2 separate regions of the Homo sapiens genome follow, and region 2 is linked to region 1. Evidence: promoter capture Hi-C in human tissues and cell types (Jung and others, 2019). All regions are on one chromosome and are shown on one strand. The core of a region is centred on a gene start or on the middle of the fragment in contact, and the rest is flanking DNA. Distances in the headings are between cores, read along the strand shown. Region 1 holds the start of TCERG1L (transcription elongation regulator 1 like). Region 2 has its middle 160 kb from the start of TCERG1L.

The links. The method cuts DNA at HindIII sites, captures the fragments that hold promoters and counts their contacts. A contact is called where the count stands out against the background at its distance.
Region 2: a contact is called between a fragment that was not itself captured here and the fragment with the promoter of TCERG1L in region 1, in 3 of the 25 tissues and cell types used here (H1 embryonic stem cells, mesendoderm cells and thymus).

The regions. Positions count from the first base shown.
Region 1 is chr10:131,307,775-131,313,389 of GRCh38, reverse strand. TCERG1L (transcription elongation regulator 1 like) reads left to right here and starts at 1,669. Exons shown (of 12, transcript NM_174937.4): 1 at 1,669-2,096; 2 at 4,091-4,237; 3 at 4,999-5,179. The coding sequence starts at 1,755. LOC101927461 (a long non-coding RNA gene) reads right to left here and starts at 1,534. Exons shown (of 3, transcript XR_242763.6): 1 at 1,116-1,534. The HindIII fragment of the contact is 8,672 bases long and covers 1-5,615 here.
Region 2 is chr10:131,469,589-131,475,050 of GRCh38, reverse strand. No RefSeq gene overlaps it. Among named protein-coding and RNA genes, the nearest start is that of TCERG1L, 160 kb to the right of the region's middle. The HindIII fragment of the contact is 6,268 bases long and covers 55-5,462 here.

The DNA.
Region 1 (5,615 bases), core at 420-2,919:
GACCATTAAACTAACACATTTATAACACATGTGCACATACTAATATATGCACATAAATTAAGGGTGTAAGTGAATAGTAACAGCCTTCTAATGTGCAGAGCTTTCTGATTTTAGGTGAATAAAAAAAATGCCAGTACTTTTGCATCAAAGAGAGAGATAAACTTGCTAATTGAAAACTGGTTTTCGTGGAGGAAAATATGGAGGCGCCAGCTATGTAAATCAGCATATGCCCAGATCTAAAAGAAATCAGGCCAGGCCAAGAGGAAATTAAGCAAATCAGGATAATGAGGAAACAACCCTAGACGCAAATTAAAAGCACTCGGGTGCTTTAGGCCATCTCAGGAGGTTGGCAGTGGACAGGTGGGAGGTGATGCGAACACGGGTTTGGAGTACCAGGCGTGTCAGTGCCGCTGGGTGGGTGGGTGCCTGCTCTCCCACCCAGGTCAGGGAGGGTTTTTCATGCAAGTTCTTAAATGCATGGATCATAATGCTGCCTTTTGCATCCAGAAAGACCCTTCAAATGCCTCTAACAACACTGGTCTCGCGCTGGCATTAGCTGTGCTTGGGTTTCCTGGGTTTAGCGACCTAAGGGGTTTACAGCGCACGGAAGTCTCTGCCCAGCTGTCAGCGCGCGTCGCCAGGGGCTGCACTGAAGCTGTGGACCCGGGATGGGGAGGAGGCTGGCGGCCTCCGAAGCAGGGTCTACAGCGGGGGAGGGCTAGCGCCGTCTGGCGGTGGCTGCGCGTGGCCAGTGCGGACCCAGGCTCGGCTCGGCCGGCGCTGCCTGCGTGTGGTCCGGGCGGAGCGAGGGTCCTTGGAGCCCGGTTCGTCCTGGGTCCCAGGAAGCTCGGCGTGCAGCGTCAGAGGCCGCGTGTGCTGGGGGAGGGAGGAGTACAGACTGTGCCTGGGGGCATCCAGGACGAATTCACAGAGGGGTGGTCCTGCCCCACCCAGGGGGTGTCGTGGGCAAAGGCCCTGGGGCCACCTGCCTGGTGCCTTGGAGGGCGTAGGGCAGGAGCCGCCGAGGCCCGCGGGCCACTGTGGGGCGCGGAACTTCAGACCAGGCACCCGCGGCTCAACTTCCGGGCCAGGGGACCCGCGGGGGCCTTACGAACCTGTTTGGCCCATTTGTGCAACAGAAATCCGCCCGCGCCTAGCAGCGTCCGGGGCCGCCTGCGCCGGATCCGCAGCCCAGTACCCTCCGCGCCCTGGACTCCGAGGAGGCCAGGTAGAGAGCGGCTCGCGCGGTCCCCGTCTGCGCCCTCAGCCCCGCGCTGGGCAGCGGGACATGCCTGGCTCCGGCGCCGCCACCTCGGCTTCCGCTTGCCCTTGAGTGCGGAGCCCGGAGCCTCCCTCGCGGTGCGCTGGGTCCCAGAGGGCCAGAGGCCACCAGGGGGCCGGCATCGGCGGGAGCCCAGCCGGGCGCGCCCTCGGCCCTCTCCCACCCACGTCCTCCGCGGCCGCCCGGGTCCAGGGGCGCAGCGGGGAGGAGACCCCGGCCAGGGCCGGGGAGCGCGAGGGCGGGGCGGGGTCCGGCGGGGAGGGGCGCGGGCGGGCGGGGACCGGGGCGGGGGCCGGGTCCGGGGGCGGCGGCGGCGCGGGCGGGAGGAGGAGGAGCTTCCCGCGCGGGGCAGGGGCGGAGCGAGCGGCCGCGCCGCGGAGCCAAGTGAGTTCGCTCCGGAGCCGCGCCGCCGCCGGCCCAGCATCTCGGGCGCCCGCCGCCCCCGCCGCCGCCGTCAGCGCGGGGATGTAGGATGCAGGCGGGCGCCAGGTTCCAGCGGCGGCGGCGGCAGCTGCAGCAGCAGCAGCCCCGGCGGCGGCAGCCTCTCCTCTGGCCGATGGACGCAGAGCCGCCGCCGCCGCCGCCCTGGGTCTGGATGGTGCCGGGCTCGGCCGGGCTGCTCCGGCTCAGCGCGGGGGTCGTGGTTCCCCCGGTGCTGCTCGCCTCGGCCCCGCCGCCCGCGGCCCCGCTGCTCCCCGGTCTCCCCGGCTGGCCGGCCCCGAGCGAGCCGGTGCTCCCGCTGCTGCCGCTGCCCTCTGCGCCAGACTCCGCCGCCGCCGCCGCCGCGCACCCCTTCCCCGCGCTCCACGGGCAGGTAACGTGTCCCCGTCCCGCCTCGGCCCGGGTCGCCGTCTCCCCTGCTCCTGGGCGCGCCCTGCCCGGCCCGGCTCTGGCCTCCGGCTCGCGCGCCCTCCTCCCCGGCGGTCCTCGCCGCCCCAAACCCTCAGGACGGAGCCCGGCAGCCGTGCCTCGGCGAGAAAGTTCGTGCTTGGACGCCCGGTCGTCCACCTCCGCAGCTTTGGCAGGTGCCTCCGGGTGTCTGGACGGAGCCGTGGAGGGACCCGCCGCCCAGGCCCGCGTGGGGACCGCAGGGAACTCGCGCCACGCCGGGGGTCACTGTCCATCGCGAGGTGCTGAAGTGGCTCCGTGACCGCCGCGGGCCGTGGCTGACATCGCGGAGAAGTTAGGACTTTCACAGTCTCTGCCAGACTTGAAAGCAAGCTGGAAATCGATAGCTGTTTCAGCTGTTTCAGATTCTAATCTGGTTTGGGTTTTTCCCCCTTTCATTTGAAAATAGACTCAGGGCAATGCTTAAGAGAATTCCAACCGACGGAAGTGGCCGGGAAATCCTGCCTTCGGTACTGAGGGATGTTACCGGAGATTCCCCTGCCCCAGGCCTGCCGGAGTCCACCACATTCGCTAATGCCACACTGCACTTTAGAACTAGAGTTTGGCTTTTAAGACATGGGATTAAAAAGAAAAAGTGACTGAACCTTTGATAAATGGTGCAGCAGAGCTAGGCGGGCTGGTTTGGGCAAGATTCATTGTCAGCTAACTATGCAGATGCATTTAAATCAGGGAATAGCGTGCATTTTATTCCAAGGATTGACCTCATTAGCATATTCAAACGGGTGTTATGTTAGAATACACCATTTGATTAATTTAATTCCAATATTATCTTGTGAGCTTTTCTAAAAGATGTTGTTAAACTCCTGCTAAATTGGTCTTTAGACTTAATGATACATCACATATGCAGCACTGGATATTGTATTTTTATGTGTGATGCAGTTTATTTTGGATTTTATTCAAGAAACGTTGGTAGTTTTTGCCGTATTTTGGAGGGGTGTTATATCAGAGTGCTGCCACTAGAGGTATATAATGTCAAGGAACTACATTTTTTAAATTCTGCTTTAAAAAACTGCATTTTTTCACTTATATAAATTTAAAAGAAAATTTAAAAAACCTTAGCATTAATCTTTTAAATATTTTTGTGCTACCCAGCTTCTGTAAAGTAAGAATATGTACAACCAGAAGAACATTTTCATGTAACAGGAACATCACAAATGCTTTTACGATTTTAAAACAATAGGTACTGAAACGTTCCATGTCATTGAGCAATGCATTTTATTAGTGCCTTATGAGGTCTCAGTTATTTTAATTAGAGAGACGGTGCCCTGAATTACCAGCCCCTTTCCATGACTGATGTTTTATTCTGTGTATTGAGATCTTCAACTTAGAAGATGCTTAGTTTTTTTTTTTTTTTTTTTTTTTTTGCCATAGAATCTATTTGTATTGGTGAACCTTGTATTGGTGAAACTTGGAATCTTAACTTCCTAGATATTTTCATTTTGAAAGTATTAGTTATTTGTAAAACGACAAAAGTAATTAATACAAAATGCAATGCTGAAAGGAATATTATAAAATATAGCCCTAAGCCTGCCTATAAAAATAATTTAAGAATTAGAAAAGGAATACCCAGCATTTCTCTTCTTCATGGTGATTTCTCATTATCTCAGAGCAGAAACCCATTTCTTACTGCGTGCTTGTGGTTTTGTGCTTAGAAGTTCTTTTTCAGTATTGAAGAATGCAATGTTGGTAATGCTTTGTGATGATTCAGATATGAAAACTTCTATAATTTTTTCTTTGATTGGTACATACTTATAGTTTTTCTCGAGGAAATTTATCTGATAATCAAATACATACATTTTGAAATTCCCTTTTCAAAGCAGTTATTCCAGCATGTTTTGGCATGAAGTCGAGTGGATGGATTCAGGCTAATGCAGCTGTCTTTTCTTGCTTGGCTTGCAGTGGCTGTTTGGTGGCCATTCTCCGTCCCTAGGACTGCCCCCCTCTTCCACAGTGGAGCTGGTGCCCGTCTTCCCACATCTCTGCCCTTCTGCTCTTGCAACCCCTATTGGGAAAAGTTGGATAGACAAAAGGATTCCTAACTGTAAGGTAAAAACGCAAGTGATTTAATTGGATAAGGGGCTTTTAATGATTAAGTTGTCGAACATCGACATAACAACAAAAATACCCATGTATTTTCTTGTTGCCATAAATTGGCCATCTAGGTATAGAAATAAATCATTTCAGGATTAGATTGATTTGTTCAAAAATATCAGCTGGTGGGGGGCATTTTGTTTTAGTTTAGGATATTTGGATTCCACAGGGCAATGTAAAATTTCCAATTTTTGAATCAGAGTCTTTTTTAAAATTTTTTTGTTTTTAAATTTGTATCCATTGATCAAAAATCTAGACTTGAACATTACACAATACCAGTTGAAGTTTTAAAAGTCAGTTTTTCTTCATATGATGCTTTAAGTTTTCATCTTTCTAATGGTTTGTTTTGGCTTTCGGGTTCAAATTTACTGACTACATTTTGTTCACAAGGAAACTAAAGAAGTAAAGTATTGACTTGTCATACAGCTTAGTCATTATCTCATTGGGGTGATTCTTCAATCAGTGAACTGAACTGCTGGGCTGAAGTGACCAAGTCAATAGTTGAAGGCCAGCCCAGAAGACATTAGCTAGATGGTGATCGGTATTGAAGCCCTGTGGAACTTCTTTAAGTTTTAGAATGATGGTTTTATAGAGTCCCCAATAATAGAATGTTCAATGTTGGATCAACGTAAGGCAACACAAATATTTTCATGGTCATGCTCAGCTTTTATCATGCACCTTGCCTTCAGTGTTATGCTTGCATTATTTTTCGACAGATCTTTTTTAATAATTCCTTTGCTCTGGACTCAACGTGGATACATCCTGAGGAGTCAAGGTTTTTCCATGGGCATGAAAAGCCTCGTTTGCTGGCAAATCAAGTAGCTGTGTCTCTGTCCAGGCCGGCTCCTGCCTCCAGGCCGCTCCCCACGGTGGTGTTAGCACCTCAGCCCATCCCAGGTTGGTGCCCAAATAACATTGACAATGTCTGTTTCATTTTTGCTTCAATCATAAATTAGTTTTAGATATGAAAACCATACTCATCATTTTAATGAAACAATTATCTTGGTAAAATATAATTCCTTTTCACAAGCATGAAGCTTTTTTAAAAAAAACTAGTCTTGGATAGCTTATCCACTATTTTTTTCTGGGGTGGGTGGATATGAGATCTGATGTTGAAGAGATGGCTGAAGGGGTTTTCACAGAATTGTATTTGCAGTGCTCTGTTTTTAGGATTGGACCAGGTTTCCTGCTGATAGCTCTTAATAGGGGCACTAATTGATCAGTCTACTCTTTAAAAAATGTTGCCTCTCTGTGGCGACGTGCAAGGAATAATGTTTGCTGGTCTGTAGGACGCAGGAACATGTGTGATCTCTGAATTTTGCCTTCACATTGC
Region 2 (5,462 bases), core at 1,939-4,438, 160 kb before region 1:
TGGTGAATACTGAGTGTCAACTTGATTGGATTGAAGGATGCAAAGTATTGATCCTGGGTCTGTCTGTGAGGGTGTTGCCAAAGGAGATGAACATTTGAGTCAGTGGGCTGGGAGAGGCAGACCCACCCTCAATCTGGGTGGGCACCATCTAATCGGCTGCCAGCACAGCTAGAATAAAGCAGGCAGGAGAAGGAATGAGGTGACTCGCTGAGACTCCCAGCCTTCATCTTCCTCCCATGCTGGATGCTTCCTGCCCTCAGACATCAGGCTCCAGGTTCTTCAGCTTTTGGTCTCTTGGACCTTCGGCCACAGACTGAAGGCTGCACTGCCAGCTTCCTTACTTTTGAGGTTTTGGTACTCGGACTGGCTTCCCCGCTCCTCAGCTTGCAGACAGCCCATTGTGGGACTTCCCGTTGTGATTGTGTGACTCAGTACTCCTTAGTAAGCTCCCCTTCACACATCCACCCATCCAATTAGTCTTGGCCCTCTAGAGAACCCTGACTAACACAAAGGGCATTTGAGGATGCTGATTCTGGCTCCAGCTGCTGAAGTTGGGACCTGAGGACCCCGGGATGCTGCCTCTACCCTGCTGCTGCCCCTCGAGCATTTGTCCAGGGCCCATGCACCCCTCTTGGAGCCCCCTGGGTGTGTTTGTAATTCCAGAATTCCCAAGACGCTCTCCTTTGTTTCCTGCTGGAGAAAACTCAGCACACCTGTTCCAGCCCTGCTCTGAGAGGGCCTTTGAGGCAGAGCCACAGGCTGCGTGTGTGCAGGGAGGGCACACGTGGGCTGGGAGGGGGAGGGGTATGGGTGGGGGTTGGGTTGGGGGAGGGGCGTGTGTGTCCTTCGGTTGGAGCATCTGGAAGGGTCCTCAGAGTTCCCTGCACACCCAAGCCCGGCCTGCACAGTGTGGACTCTGCCTGGGCCATCTTGGTGTGGCTCTGCCAACAAGCTCTGCACACCCAGAGGGCCGGTGGCCATGTCCTCAGCTGCTGGGTGTCCTGAGTCACTAGGTGCCAAGACCTGGAGAACATATGGAGCCCGCTGAAGTCCCTGGACAGAGAGGCCACTTCTCACTGCCATTGCGGAGCCTCCCTCCAGCCCTGCCATCCCTGCCATCCCTGTGCCCCTGCGGCTGGGGCTGGGCTGCTCCTTCTTTCAGGTGGGAGGCAGCAGCCTCTCAGCACTGGGCTTACCTGGGGCTGTGAAGCGGAACCTCATGGAATGAGAGAGCTGCGCTGGGGCACCGCCTGGCTCAGTGGCACCTGTGCCGGGTTCCGGAGGTGCTTTGGGACAGACAATCATTCTGTATTCGGGATGGGGACAGCTGGAGCCACCAGGAATGGAAGGAAATGCTCTCCTCTGCTGGTGGCCTCCGGTGGGAAGACTTCCTGGCTCCATGCCCTGGAGACAAGCACCTGCCCTGTGGCCTCCCCCAGAGTCGCTCCCAGGCCCCAGCATCATCTGTCCATCGGCAGCATGACCACCACCAGTTGCCTCTGTGCTCGGCACAGGCTCAGTCATGGGACCTCATTGTTCAGAAGTTCGTGGTGATCTTTCTGGAGTAGACACCCCTTGATCTGGCCTCCCGACCTCTGAAACACAAGGTCACCTTCCACATGTCACGGTCTTCCCCAAGGGAAGGGAAATACCCAGCTCAGCCCACTGAGGCTGTTCTGTCCCATCTAAGCTGGGAGGGACAACAGAGGCGTGTGCTTGTGAAGTGAGACACAGGCTCTCGGGAAGCCGGAGACCTACTCGCAGGACTATAGGCTGCTCTCCCCTACCCAGCGCCGCACCGCCACATCACCAAGGTCCGTATGGAAGTTTCTTGCATTTGGCGCATTGTGTCTGCATATCAAAAAAATTATAAGGCATATTAAAAGGCAAAAAAGCACAATTTGGAGAGACAAAACCAGACATGGCAGAGATTTTAGAATGATCAGACAGTGAATTTAAAACAACTGTGGCCGAGCGCAGTGGCTCACGTCTGTAACCCCAGCACTTTGGGGGGCTGAGGCGGGTGGATCATTTGAGGCCAAGAGTTCAAGACCAGCCTGGCCAACATGGTGAAACCCCGTCTCTAATAAAAATACAAAAAACAAAACTAAAACTAAAAATAAATAGCTGGGCATGGCGATGCATGCCTGTAATCCCAGCTACTCGGGAGGAGTCAGGAGAATCACTCCGACCCGGGAGGTGGAGGTTACAGTGAGTCAAAATTGCATCATTGCACTCCACCCTGGGCCACACAGTGAGATGCCATCTCAAAAAATAATAAATAAATAAATAAAACTGTAAACCAAAAATAAAATCTTAAGCCCCCGACCAACTGGACAGACCCTCTCAGGGCCAAGGGGACCTCAGAGAAACGTGAAAAATGGAATTCCTGACCGTGATAGGAAGGGAGGTCGGGAGGTTGGGAGGTCAGGAGGTCAGGAGGTCATGCATGTCTCATTATACCCGCTCCCTTTTGGAGTTTAGGAACATGACCAGCACTAACTTTAAAGTGGAGAGCACTAGGCTGACAAAACAGACTTGTAGCAATCAGATACCAATTTCCAAACTGACTCTGGTATAGCATCACATGTCAGACAGCAGGCCCTGAAAGAAATCAAAGCATTTTACTCCGAAATGTAATGTATTTCTTTCACATATTTTGAAATGGCCCTTCAAAGCTGTCATTTGTGGGGGAAATTTTGCCATCTCCAAAGAATCTCCATTAATGCAGCCAGGCCTTCCCAGATCTAGGAGAGATTAACTGAGAGTCTGTCGCCTTTCAAGATCCAAAAAGAGACACTGACCTTCTATCCTCTCGGAGGGCTGCCACCACTGAGGCTTCGTCAACTTAACACGAACCTTGGCCTCCATGGCCCCCCTTACCTTAACTCAAGCATTTCTTTTACTGACGTCAAGTCTTTAGACAAAGTTTCACTTTTTAAACCAACTGCCATTTAGAAAATCTTTGAATCCACCTATGACCTGTAAGCCTTCCCCCACCAAGAACTTCAAGAATCTTTGCCTCTTTAGGCTGAACCAACGTACACATTTCATGTATTGATTTGTGATTTTACCCACATTTCTTGGCTCCCTACAATGTATAAAACCAATCTGTTACTCGACTGCCTCGGGCACACATTCTGAGGACCCCAGGCCAAGGTCACTTGTATCTTGGCTCAGAATCAACCTCTTAAAATATTTTACAGAGTTTGGTTTTGTTCCCGTGAATATGAGTATGATTAAAATGCTAAGGGCTCTGATGGGTAAAACAGGCAGCACTTAAGAACAGATGGGCAATTTTAGCAGAGAGATAGAAGTCCTAAGAAAGAAGGAAAAAGAAACAGAAGAGATAAAAATGCAGGGGCAGAAATGAGCAGGGCTTATTAGTAGACTGGACGCCGCTGAGGAACGACCGTGTGAGCTCGAGGACACACCCATAGAAACTCTGGAAACTGAAAAGCAAAAAGAACAAAGAATGAAAAGAACAGACCATAGTATCAAAGGGCTGTGGGACAGCCACGAAAGGTGTAACAAAGATTAATGAGAATATCAGCAAGAGAAGAAAGAGAGAAGGAAGAGAAGAAATACTGGAAACAATAGCGTCTGAGAACTTCCACAAATTAATATCAGACACCAAACTACCTATCCATGAAGTGTAGCTCACCAAGCAGGGTCTGTGACCCCAAGCCTACACCTAGACATGCTATTTTCAAACACAGAAAAGCAAGGATTAAAAAAAAGTCCTGAAAAAAGCTAAAGGGAGGAAAAAAACCCAACACTTTACCTGTAGAGGAAAAAAGATGAGAATTAATTCTGTCTTCTTCTCAGAAACCAAGTAAGCAAGAAGAGAGTGCAGTGAAATATTTGAAGTATTTAGAGGAAAAAACACCCCGGCACAGAAATCTGTACCCTGCAGAATTACCCTTCAAAAGTGAGGGAGAAATAAAGACTTTCTCAGACAAACAAAAATTGAGGGAATTTGTTGACAGTAGACCCGTCTTACAAAAAATATTTTAAAAGATCCTTTAGAGAGAAGGAGAATAAAAAGGCCAGAATCTCAGATCTGCATTAGAAAAACAAAGAGGGCCAGGTGTAGTGGCTCACTCCTGTAATCCTAGCACTTTGGGAAGCCTAGGTGGGTGGATCCTCTGAGGTCAGGAGTTCGAGACCAGCCTGGCCAACATGTTGAAACCCCGTCTCTACTAAAAATACAAAATTAGCCGGGCATAGTGGTGCATGCTTGTAGTCCTAGCTACTGGGGAAGCTGAGGCAGGAGAATCGCTTGAACCCAGGAGGCAGAGGTTGCAGTGAGCCAAGATCATGCCACTGCACTCCAGCCTAGGCAACAAGAGCAAAATTCCGTCAAAAAAAAAAAAAAAAAAAAAGCTCTGAGAAAGGAAGAAGTGAAGGTAAAATGGAAGCTTTGATTTTTCATAACCTTAATTGACCTGATTGATAGGTAAATGTGTTCAAAATAATAACAGCAACAATGCATTTGATCATGTATGTTCATGTATGTATTTAATGTTTTATATATATTTGCACACACACATTTATGTCTGCTGATATATCAATGAAATGAATGACAGCAATGACACAGGGACTGAGGGGTAATTAGGCTTATTTGGTTGTTTTAAGGTACTCACGTTACCTGTGAAGTGGTGTAGTGTTTTTCAAAAGTGGGCTTAGATTAGTTGTAAATCTATATTGCAAACTCTAGAAAAACTACTAAAAAAAAGGTTAAAAAAAAGAATGTGATTGACCTGATAAGAAAGGAGAGAAAATGGAATTATATAAAATCTCAATCAAAATCAACTAAAAGGTTAGAAAAGAGTGGAAGACAAAAATAGGAGCAAGGTATAAAGGCAACAAATAAAAAACAATATCAAGTATGGTAGATATTAATCCAACTATATCAATCATTACTTTGAATGTCAATGGTCCAAATGCACCCATTGAAAGACAAAGATTATCAGAGTGAATGAAAAAGCAAGACCCAACTACATGTTATCTATAAGAAACCCACTTTAACTTAAAAGAAACGTATAGATTAAAAGTAAATGGATGGGGGAAATATATGCCATGCTACAACCAATGAAAAGAAAGTAGAAGATGTATTAATGCAGACAGAATAAGCTAGGAAAGCTACCAGAAATAAACAGGGCATTACATAATGATAAAGGTATCAGTTCCCCAAGTATATCTAACAATCCTTAACGTGATTAAGAACGGAGTCAAGCCAATGAGGCAAAAGCTAATAGAACTGCATGGAAAAATAGATGAACACACTGTTGTGGACTTCAACACCCTCTGTCAGAAATGGACAGTTCCAAGGGGCAGAAAAATCAGTAAAGACATAGGTGAACTCAGCAACACCAGCAATAACCTGGAAATAATTGGCATCTTAACATGTGAGTAAAAAAAGAAAGCTTAAGAGAAATTTAGAAATGTTTAAACAAAAT